Linked DNA regions of Homo sapiens: all the other regions are linked to region 3. The links are contacts of gene promoters, found by promoter capture Hi-C in blood cells and fetal thymus (Javierre and others, 2016). All regions are on one chromosome and are shown on one strand. The core of a region is centred on a gene start or on the middle of the fragment in contact, and the rest is flanking DNA. Distances in the headings are between cores, read along the strand shown. Region 1 overlaps ZNF202 (zinc finger protein 202). Region 2 overlaps LOC105369544 (a long non-coding RNA gene). Region 3 holds the start of OR10S1 (olfactory receptor family 10 subfamily S member 1).

The links. The method cuts DNA at HindIII sites, captures the fragments that hold promoters and counts their contacts. A CHiCAGO score of 5 or more calls a contact.
Region 1: a contact is called between a fragment that was not itself captured here and the fragment with the promoter of OR10S1 in region 3, in 1 of 17 cell types (endothelial precursors). The highest score is 5.3, in endothelial precursors.
Region 2: a fragment that was not itself captured here is called in contact with the fragment with the promoter of OR10S1 in region 3 in 1 of 17 cell types (neutrophils); the score reaches 5.2 in neutrophils.

What each region holds. Positions count from the first base shown.
Region 1 is chr11:123,735,715-123,739,718 of GRCh38, forward strand. The region is part of intron 3 of ZNF202 (zinc finger protein 202); the gene reads right to left. Among named protein-coding and RNA genes, the nearest start is that of ZNF202, 3.9 kb to the right of the region's middle. The HindIII fragment of the contact is 2,446 bases long and covers 940-3,385 here.
Region 2 is chr11:123,810,478-123,814,590 of GRCh38, forward strand. All of the region lies in intron 2 of LOC105369544 (a long non-coding RNA gene), which reads left to right. Among named protein-coding and RNA genes, the nearest start is that of OR6M1, 6.2 kb to the left of the region's middle. The HindIII fragment of the contact is 4,432 bases long and covers 1-4,113 here.
Region 3 is chr11:123,975,360-123,979,067 of GRCh38, forward strand. OR10S1 (olfactory receptor family 10 subfamily S member 1) reads right to left here and starts at 2,422. Exons shown (of 1, transcript NM_001004474.2): 1 at 1,302-2,422. The coding sequence starts at 2,305. The coding sequence ends at 1,337. The HindIII fragment of the contact is 7,911 bases long and covers 1-3,708 here.

The DNA of each region.
Region 1 (4,004 bases), core at 913-3,412, 240 kb before region 3:
ACTCAGTGATTATCTGAGATATGAGAGCTTTATGAACTAAAATGTGTTGTGCAAATGTCAAGATTTAATATTAGAGGCAGAAAACAGATGTTGTGTTTTTATTCTATAATTAATGGGATGTGCTATGCCATAAGTATACCTTGCAATTTGTTGCCTTTGCTATTCTAATACCTTTCTTCAATGTCTGTCCTTGGAAGAGTTCCAGAGTAAGACAAAAACTATAGAGAGAATACAATAGAGAGAATATGAAACCAGGCCAGGATTAAGTAAGAGACTTGGTTCCAGAAGACACTAAAACAGTATCTGCAAAGATACAACCTAGTGTCTTGAGTGTTCCTAGGATGCATAGGATTGGAGAGGAGCTATCAAGGTAAGACCTCTGTACAATCCTCAGGCCAGCTGTCTCTGCCCCTTATCTGAAGGTGTCACGTGGCAGTGAAGACCCAAGCTCAATTCTCTTACAAGAACAGAAAACCACAGGCAATGAAACAATATCTAGTTCTCTACCTTAAAACGCTACTAGCTAGGGTGATCTTTCTGGACCCTAAATGACAAAGTCTGTAGTCATATACCATCAACCTAAAGGAGAGACAGTGATCTGCCTATGTACTGGCAAATAATCTTCAGAAGAAAATAGTGATTAGAACTGAAATTATTATATTTAGCAGATATTTATATCCCTTCCAGTCCCCATTCTTATTTTATACCTTAATGCAGGCCTATAGTTTGGTAATTTTAATACAACTACTTGCTGGGGCTAACCAGGGCCTGTCAACAGCTCCTCTCAGTGTTCTAGAATAGAAATTGGCTAATAAAAACTGTTAACCGCTCTTTTCCAATGCTGCTGCTGTTCTTTAAAACGAAAGATTAGCCCAGTACAATCCTTCTAATGGACATATTCTTTTATTCTTGATTGTCCTATATACAAGCGCTTACCTAAGCTTTCCACATAATGGTTAGTGGCCTTGGCACGCTGGGTTTGAATCCCTGACCTCGAATCCCTGACCTCGCTTATTAGCCTTGTAACACAATTTCCCTAAGCCTCAGTCTTATCCTCAAAAATGTGGCTAATACTACTTATCTCATGTGGTTGTTTTAAGGAGTAAATGAAATAACCTATAGAAACCCTTCAGTATAGAGTCTGGCATAGGGTAGGTGCTCAATATATTTTATTCATTTTCCTTCAAGCTATTTGAAATCGTTTTGGGAAGAAGGCAAGATTTAAATGATAAACAAGCAAACAGTTCTCTATTGCATCATAATTACAAAAAAACAGATGGCATAAGGAAAATCTTGGTCGGTCTATTGTTATATCAAAGAAACCATGCTAAACCAAAAAAAAAATCCTTGCTTTGGAGGCACTTATGAAGTAGGATTAAATGAAAGTGTTGGAATACAGATGAGAAGGAACCTTAGACACAGGTTCTCCCACCGAAGACCATATCAGCAATGCTTCTAATTACCAATATATCAAAGTCCTCTCCACTCCCTGTAACTGGCAGGAGACAATCTGAGGCAAACTCAGTGTACCAAGAAGTCCTGTGAAAACTTAACCTAGACAGCACAATGAATGAAAGGGAATGAATTCCCTGGCTTTTGGCCTTCTAACACGTGACCAGTATGCTTCAAAACATGTTTAAAACTGTTTCTGTAAAATATTTTTGCCACCTAAGTTTCCCCCCCGCCCCTTCATAAAAGTGATATTTGAGTAGTGAGGGGAGAAATGGCTCAAAATTTGTTACAAGAGGTTCCAAAGAAAGACAATAAGGTATAGAGAAAGGGAAGACAGGAAGAAAGAGAAAGAGGTCAAGTATGTAGTGGATAGTACAGGGAAGTCACAAGTATCTTCTGTCTGGAAATGCTGCAGATTTTGTGGTTAGCCTCAAGATATTAGGTGGGAATAAACATGTCATTGAGAGTAAATGTAAACACAAAAATGAAAAATAAAAATTGTAACAATTCACTTTATTCTAAACTGTTTTTGATGGTTATATATGGCAGGCCTAGGAGGCAATGTTAGACAGTAGATAGTTGCCTTCGGCGGAGGGTGACCTGTGTTCTGTCCACTGCTCTACATTGTAAAGAGGTGTCATCTTGGACAAGTCACGGCAGCTCATGTTGAGTCTTGGGATGATTCTTTATCTAAAGGTAGAGAACTGAACCAGCTTTTTGATGGTGATGAGGAGGGGTTTTGAGAGGAACAAGGATATACAGCATCTCTATTGAATATTTGGGCCATAATGTAACAGCCTAGGATGCTGAGATTTACTCAAGAGCTGAGGACGGCTAGGGGCCAAACACAGATTTTTAAGTTTTGAGATAGGGTTTACTCTGTTGCTAAGACTGGAGTGCAGTGGCAAGATCACAACTCACTGCAATCTCTGCCTCCCAGGTTCAGGCCATCCTCCCACCCCAGCCTCCTAAGTATCTGGGACTACAGCACATGCCACCATGCCCAGCTAATGTTTAAATTTTTTATAGAGAAGGGGTCTTGCCATGTTGCCCAGGCTGGTCTCAAATACCTGGGCTCAAGTGATCTGCCAGCTTTGGCCTCCCAAAGTGTTAGGATTACAGGTGTGAGCCACTGCACCCAGCCTCAAATACAGATTTTTAAGAGGCCAGATTTATACACCTGGCCATCATGGTCATGTTGGTTAACCTCCATCATGAAGCTAGGCTTTTTAACCTTCAGGAAAACTACCCCAGAGCAGTTAATGGCCTAAATAAAGGAGGTCAAGCTATATGTCTCAGTTTAAAACAGAACATGACAAATTAACCTGAAGCAGGAAAAGGAGGGGACATCAAACCTGACACCCATCCTGATAAGAGTAACTGCTCTCATTTGACAGCCAGAGTTAAACTAGATGTATGCAATCTCTACAACAAACATAGTCAATGCCAATCAGATAGTCAGAGGAACCATCATTTAATGGGAAATAACGCAATAACATATATAACAGAGCTGACCGGAGGTGTTGCTATAGATAATTCATAACAGCAGTAAATTCAAAAGTCATTTACTATGTTTTTAGCTTTGTCATTAACACAGCCTGTGTGGATACTCCCTGTTTCACGTCTAGATGACTTCCTCCTGGCTTTGCTCAAGGGTCCTTTAGCATTTGAGGAGATGATAAGGGATGGGATCCCCGCCTGTTGAACCAGAGGAATCTGAGGAGTACCAGGTTTCCACTGAAGACTAAATCATGATCCAGAGAAGGAATCTCAGAAGTCATTCTTGTCGTGGGCATGGCTTAACGTCTGTCTCCCCACTGTGGGCCCTGCCCTCGAGAGCAAGGGTCTCCTTATTCATTTTTATATTCCCAGTGCCTACCACTTTGTGGAGCCCTTAGTAGAAAAGGTATTCAATAAACGCACATTGAGTTTAAGCTTTCTATTTCTCCTCCCCCAACTAGTATATATTACAGAAGCACTGAAAATTCAGAAATCAGCCAGTGTCAGGGCTCCTGGGTAATAAACCATTCACAGGGATAGCTGTAGGAATTTGGCATAAGCATTTATTCCAATCTCTTGGGGGTAATCAAGTGGCATAATCATGCCCTGCTTTACTGTGTAGCATAAGGCCAGTAGAGAAAAACATCAAGAGGGGAGGAGGACAAGGGATGGAGTTCAATACACAAATATCTACTGAGCGTCAATTACGTGTCCCACACTATTCAAGGTGCTGGGCAAAGAAAGATAAAAAAAGCAGAAGCTCTGACCTTGAGGAACTTAACAGGTAGTTAAGAAATTGCAGAATTTTAGCAATACTAGGAATTCACAGCAAAAGCCCAGAATACAGGTGTAATATTTTGATCAAAACGTGAAGCCCCTATCAAGAGAATTAAGAAAATCAAGGGGAAGAACTTATCAATATTTCACCTCAAATTTGGCATATAGCATTCAGTTGTTTTAAGTACGCTTTCTTAATTTTGCGAACAAAATATTCAGACCTAAGTGATTATCTATAAAAGATCAGATTACTAGTTTCCAACACAGAAGTACTC
Region 2 (4,113 bases), core at 903-3,402, 170 kb before region 3:
GGTTTATTTGCCTTAGAGATTTAGATGAGAACAGCTCTTGGGGATATGGGTCAAAAGAAGTTAATTAATATTGTTATAAAAGAATGTTGGTTCTGAACTTCCTAATCAGAAAGTTTTAGACTGTCTACAAGTAGAGCAGTTAGGGATTCCTTGGGGATTTTCCCAGACATTTTGCTTCTTCCATTTAAAGAGAAAAGAATACCTTAAAAATAATCTATAAGGAAGCTAAAAGCATGGAACACTTTTCATCCTTCTTAAGTTTATTGATATAATCAGAAATATTCTACAACAGTAAATATTCTAGAGTTTCAGATACTATGTACTACCTCTCTCTGTCTACGTTAGCATAATTTTTTAAAAAGTTCCAGTTGAAAATAGGGTCATAGTAAATTCCACAATGTTTTTCCTCCCTGTCCTTTCCCTGTTGAAAAAGATGAGCCGTTGTGTAATAATCACATCGTGCCATTATCAAAACACCTCATGTACCCCATAAATATATACACCTACTATGTACCCACGAAAATTAAAAATAGAAAAATTGTAAAAAGATGGGCTCTTGTACAGAAGTCAGCCTTGTACAACTCTGTTCTTCCATGCTCTTGACCTATCTCTTATGGCTACAAACTTTCCATAAGTTTCCACTGTATTCTTTGATTTTTTTTAATGAAAATTCTTTCAAACATTTTTTACTTAACTAAAAAACCCTCTTTTTTTTTTTTAAACCTTAACAGTAACCTGACTTTCACTTGAGGACACTGGTTCCACTGAGTTGAACGCACATCCTTCTTTCCATGTACAAGAGCGATAGAGTTACATAGCTGCAGGGACATTATAACAATATAAAAATATTATGTAGTTTTATATTTATATTCTATCAATTATATATTATGTGATATGCTATATGACATACATTACATAAGTGTACAATGTGTTTATACTTTTATATATAAATTTGTTATATAAGTATATAGTATATTTATACTATATTATTAATTTTATGATAATATAATAATTTGTTGTTTTTGTTATTTTGCTCCCAATTTCTGCTTTCAATAAGAAATTATTTCTCTGGTTTCTGATAAAACTCCTCCGAGGCTCATAGCATACAATCTTTTTTATTTTTCTAGTATACCATCTTATAAATTTTCTTTGATTCCGCCATTTATTGCCTGAGTTTCAAGAAATAAGCAAATAACTGCTATAGAGCCTTCAAGTAAGACCATTATGGAAGTCATTTTTTAATTGACTCTTTCAGTGGTTCATGTGAACAGCTTTTCTCAGCTGTTTTGATTTGCTTTTGTTGATATTCAACCTAAAACTTGAATGTCTTTTTTTCAAAAATAATCTCAACTTTTATTTTAGATTTCAGGGTACATATACAGGTTTGTTACATGGGTATGTTGCACGATGCTGAGGTTTGGGGTATGGATGATTCCGTCACTTGGGTAATGGGCATAGTACCCAATAGGTAGTTTTCCAGCCCACACACCCCTCCCTCCTTTCCCCCCTAGTAGTTCTCAGTGTCTATTATTCCTATCTTTATGTCCACATGTACCCAATGTTTAGCTCCCACTTATAAGTGAACACATGTGGTATTTGGTTTTCTGTTCCCATGCTAATTCACTTAGGATAATGGCCTCTGGCTACAGCCATGTTGCTGCAAAGGATATGATTTCATTCTTTCTCATGGCCATGTAGTAGTCCATGGTGTATATGTACCACATTTTCTTTATTCCACCATTGACGGGCACCTAGGTTGATTCTATGTCTTTTGCTATTGTGAATAGTGCTGCAATGAACATATGTGTGCATGTGTCTTTCTGATAGAACAATTTTATATTCCTCTAGGTATATATTCAGTAATGAGATTGCTGGGTCATATGGTAGTTTTAAGTTCTTTGAGAGTCATATGGTCGTTTTAAGTTCTTTTAGAAATCTCCAAACTGCTTTCCACAATGGCTGAACTAATTTACATCTCACCAACAGTATATAAGCATTTCCTTTTCTCTGCAGCCTTACTGGCATCTGTTATTTTTTATTATTTTAACTTTTATTTTAGGTTCATGGGTACATGTGTAGGCTTGTTGTGTAGGTAAATTGTATGTTATGGGGATTTGGTGTACAGATCATTTTGTCACCCAGGTATTATAAATAGTACACAATAAGTAGTGTTTCCATCCTCACCCCCCTCCCACCCTCCAATCTCAAGTAGGCCTCTGTGTCTGTTGCTCCCTTCTTTGTGGCCATATATACTCAAAGTTTAGCTCCCACTCGTAAGTGAGAATAGGCAATATTTGGTTTTCTGTTCCTGTATTAACTCACTTAGGATAATGGCCTCCAGCTGCATTCACGTTGCTGAAAACGACATGGTCTCATCCTTTTTTAAAGTTGCATAGTATTCTATTAGGTATATGTACCACATGTTTTAATCCAGTCTACAGTTAATGGGCATTTAGGTTGATTCCATGTCTTTGCTATTGTGAATAGTGCTGCAGTGAACATACTTGTTCATGTGTCTTTATGGTAGAATGATTTACATTCCTTTGGGTATATACCCCGTAATGGGATTGCTGGATTAAATGGCAATTCTGTTTTAAGTTCTTTGGGAAATCTCCAAACTGCTTTCCACAATGGTTGAACTAATGTATACTCCCACCAGAGGTGTATAATCATTCCCTTTTCTCAACAACCTCTCCAGCCTCTGTTATTTCTTGCCTTTTTAGTAATAGCCATTCTGACTGATATGAGATGGTATCTTCTTATGGTTTTGATTTGCATTTATCTAATGGTTAGTAATGTTGAGCATTTTTTCATGTTTGTTGGTCACTTGTGTGTTTTCTTTTGCAAAGTGCCGGTTCATGTCTTTTAATTATTTTTTTAATGGGTTGTTTGTCTTTTGCTTGTAAATTTGTTTAGGTTCCTTATTGATTGTACATATTAGATCTTTGTTGGATGCATAGTTTGCAAATATTTTCTCCCATTCTGTAGGATGTCTGTTTACTCTGTTGATAGTTTCTTTTGCTGTGCAGAAGCTCTTTAGTTTAATTAGGTCCCACTTGTCAATTTTTGTTTTGTTGCTATTTCTTTTGAGGACTTAATCACAAATTCTTTGTCAAGGCTGTTGTCAAGAAGGGCATTTCATAGGTTTTCTTTGAGGAATTTTATAGTTTGAGTTCTTACATTTAAATCTTTAAAAAATTTGAATATCTTAATCTTATTTCCAATGATTATTTCCTCTTAAGTCATCAACTCCATTTTTGTAAATTAGATCTTGCCATTACATATAAATAATCTCTGAAATGTCAAATTCTAGGGTACCAATTTTGAACTATATTCCTCTAATTAAACAACTGTTTCTATGCACTTATTTCATGGCTTGGTCCAGATCTCCAGCTGATAAATTCCTCCATTTTCTAGCAACCTTTCTGCATATATATATATTTATATATGTACACACACACACATATACATATAGATAGAAGTCCAGATCTCCAGCTGATAAATTCCTCCATTTTCTAGCAACCTTTCTGCATATATATATATATTTATATATATACACACACACACATATACATATAGATAGAGCGATATTTTAGAAAACTACATATATATATATACATGTGAAACAAATTTTTCTTTCAGTATTTTAAAGATGTTACTTCACTATCTTCTGGTTTGCACTGCTTCTCACAGGAAATCTGCTGTTAATCTATCTTTGTTTCTTAGTATGTAATATATCCATTTTGGGTTTTTTTCTGCTTTAAGATCTTCTCTTTATCAATGGTTTTAAGAAATTTGATTATCATGTGGTTTGGTGTAGTTTTATCCGTATCTCTTTTGCTTGGGGGTTTGTTGAGCTTCTTGAACCTTTGAGATTATAATTTTTATCAAATTTGGAAAATTTTTGGTCACTATTTTTTCAGATTTTTTCCATTCTCATTTTACTTCAGTGACTCTAAGTGGGATTTGCTTGAAGTTGTACCACATTTCACTGATATTCTGGGGTTTTTTTTTTGTTTTATCTTTTCTCCTTTAGGTATTGTTTTTATTGGTATGTGTTCAAGTTCATTACATTTTTCTCCTACAATGCCCAATCTGTCGATAATTTTATCC
Region 3 (3,708 bases), core at 1,172-3,671:
ATGCAGACCAAGCAACTAGTACAGTGCCTTGTACATACATATGTCAAAAATGATTATAATTATGATTCCCATTCTAATAGTCTTATAATTTTTTCTCTTCAAAACACTTCTGATCTAATTCTATAAAGTGTCTCTTCATCTAGGTTTAGCAATACTTTTATTATCTTATGTCTCTGATGTTATAATAGTTTATTAACTGGCCATTCTACCATTTCTCCTTTTTTTGTCTCTCTTTTCTAATTTATCTCATGGTTTAGCATTTAAAGAAGTGGCTTCTCAGGATAAAGGTATTTCTATAGATGACAAGGAGGAGGAAAAGTAAACAGGTAGGATGCCTAGGGCATAATCTGAATTCTTTAGGTTGGCATTCAAGGACATTTTCATCTTATAGAATAGGTTAGGTGAATACAACACAACTCCTTCCTCTTGTATGGTAAGCTGGTTTAACTAAAACCTTGAGTTATCTTTTATAATTTTGAAGTCTAGAAATGCCCTTTCTTTTGTAGTTGCCCTATAAACTCAATGAAGATATTAAAACCTTGCTAATCTTTCAGAAACAATTTGAACCTTAGCTTGTATCATAAGCTCTCTTTGATTTCTTCAACCAGCTTGGTAAGAAACATGAGCGCCTATTTTACATGACACTTAATATAACTATTTTATTTAGACCTCATAATATCCTACAAAGCAATTATTTTAAATCTTACTCTTAAAAGTGGAGACTAAAACTGCAATTATGACATCTGTACAAAATTCTACAACTAGACCTGGTTGGATCAGTATTAGAATACTGGTAGGTTCAATTGACACCAAAACCCATGTTATTTCTATCTCTCAATGTGGCCTAAAGTATATACTACCATGAGTGGGAGAATAAAGAAAATGTGACTTTCTAAGTCACCTTGGACAATCACTTTTCTCCTTGTATTTTATCATTTTAAAAAATGTGGTTTCTAAGCTGGGAAATATGTATACAAAGGTTTTTTCATTGCCTTTTATATTTTTGTTTACAGTATTCTGTATGTATTTAATAAAGTTATTTCATAAAAAGTAAAACAATCATTTACTAATACAAATGAGGATACGAATAGCATTTCACATACCTCTGAACCATAGAACATAGATTTTGGAGAGACTCTAGACATCATCTAATCCAGCCTCCTCATTTTCTAGATGAAGTGTTTGCAAGGGAGAGAGTGAGGTAGACCATTTGGCCAAAGCTGGGGGAAAGTGTGTGACTGAGTTGCAACTCAGTTATTCTGATTTCCACCTGAATGATTTGAGATGTGAATAGTTGCTTTCCTGGCAGGCAAATTGTGAGTTTTGATAGCACAGACTATGGGGGTGGGCTGCCTGCTGTAGACTCTCGGAAGCTGCTGCACAAAAGCCTTTGCAGAGCATGCTTCACCTCCTTGTTCCGCAAAGTGTAAATGAATGGGTTGAGCATTGGAGTTACGATTGTGTAGAAGACAGCAGGGGCCCCAGCTCCTGCCTCACTGGAGCGAGGCTGCAGGTAGATACAGACAGGTGGCACGTAGTACAGGAGCACCCCAGTGAGCTGGGCAGTGCAGGGGGAGAAGGCCCGCTGCCGGCCCTGGGCTGTGCGGATGCGCAACACAGCTGCCACGATGAAGATGTAGGAAATAACGATGAGGATGAGGCAGCCTGCAGCCACGATGCCAATGCTGGCAAGCATGACTAGCTCATTAATGGTGGTGTCTGTACAGGCGAGCTTTAGGACAGGGGGTATGTCGCAGAAGAAGTAGGCAATGTGGCAAGGCCCACAGTAGAGCAGGCGGAAGGTGAGGGAGGTGTGGATTGCAGCGTGCGTGGCACCTATGGCCCAGGTGATTCCAGCCATTTCTGCACACATCCTTCTGTTCATGGCCACTGGGTAGTGCAGGGGTTGACAGATAGCCAGATAGCGGTCATAGGCCATGACTGTGTACAGGAAGCACTCAGTGCTGGCCAGAAAGTGGAAGCAATAAAGCTGTACGGCACAGCCCTCAAAGGAGATCACCTTCCCATCCAGAGTCAGCAGGCCTGCCATGACCTTGGGCACTGTCACTGTAGACAAACAGGCATCCAGGAAGGAGAGGTGCCCCAGGAAGTGGTACATGGGTAAGCTGAGGTGAGAGTCAGAGCCCACAGTTAGGAGGATGAGGAGATTCCCAGCCACAGTGATGCTGTAGATGAGGAGGAAGAGGAGGAAGAAGAGGCTAGAATGTTTAGCGGTGTACCTCAAACCCTCCAGGAAGAAGTGGCTCACCACAGTCTGGTTGGGGTTCTCCGTTGTCATGGTCATCTTCTCACACACAGAGCGGCTAGTCATCCCCTTTGCAACAAAACTGACATTAATGGAATAAATAGCTGTATCCCTTTCCTGAGATGTCATTATCCATCAAGCCACACCACCTTGGTCTTACCCAGTAAGCAAGAGAAAGATGTACAAGTTCATCTTACAGTTTTGTTCTGCTCTAGTCTAGTGCTTCCTTGCTGTTTATTTCTTCATAATGAATCTTTCAATACAAAATCTGCAGTTTTGGTGAGGTATATAAAGGACTGTAAGAATTATTTGCAGAAATGCACTCCCTAAATAATGACAATAAAAATATGGATTATAAATCCTACTCTCAATGAGTATTTTTTGCAAATATTCCAGAATTGTGATGCCTCTGCCCTCCTACTCTATGTACCCTGCCATGCTGTAGATGTAGAAAGGCAGGTTCTTATTGCTGTGTCATCAGGGAGATGCATCCTATTTTCAGGTGAGACTTGCCTGGAGTTTTGGTGCTATTACATCAGCCAGAAACACAGCAGCCCCACCCATTACTCAACCAGAGGAGTTCTTTGGAATTTCAGTTACCCACAATCCTCAAGTGTGTAACAATTGAGGCTTGGAGAATAGACTGAATAATTATCAGGACAATTTTTTCTATACACTTTGTGTTCTTCCTGTAAAGCTCTGTTTCAAAATTTGGGGAATTGTTTGCCTTTTCCTTTCTTGTTGAGCCTTTCCACTGGACTGTAATTGAGATTTAAAGAGTTCTCTTTGATTCTTCCATCTTTCACCTCGTTAGCCTAACAGATGTTGCATTAGGTGAAAAATTTCCTTAAACTGCTTTTTTTCCGTGTTGTCTCTTCAATTCCTGTGGATTTTACCTAAACCCACCTCTTCATATTTTACACCTAGATTTTCACAATGGTATTTTATGTCCCATCTCTTCCTTACTCCCTGATATACCAAATGATTCAGTATTCAACTTTTTTGTGCCAGTTTTCTTAAAAAAATTCGAATATATCTTTTCTTACTGTTCCTTAGTGCCTGAGATATAAAGTGTATCTCTGTCCTACATTCAGAATTATCTGTAAACTATTTCCATTATCATGAAAAAAATCTTTATCTTCTGCAATCCCCTAAGAAACTCCTGTTATCCAGGGATGCTATTTGCCTCATCTCCTCAATTTGCCATAATCTCTCTCTGATCTTGTCACAGGATCCTTAGGATGTCACTTTTCCAGACAGAAACCTCTGTGGCTGGTGGTTCCTCTGCTTGAGTTTGCTCATGGCTGCTGGGTTCTTTTCACCCACTTGGCCTGGCAGGCTGCACTTGGCTCGTGCTACCAGCCTGGATTCCATGCTTGCCAAGGGTGGGAGAGGCGAGAGGTGTGTGAGTGAGCAAGCACAGGGGTCTGGCCACTGCACAC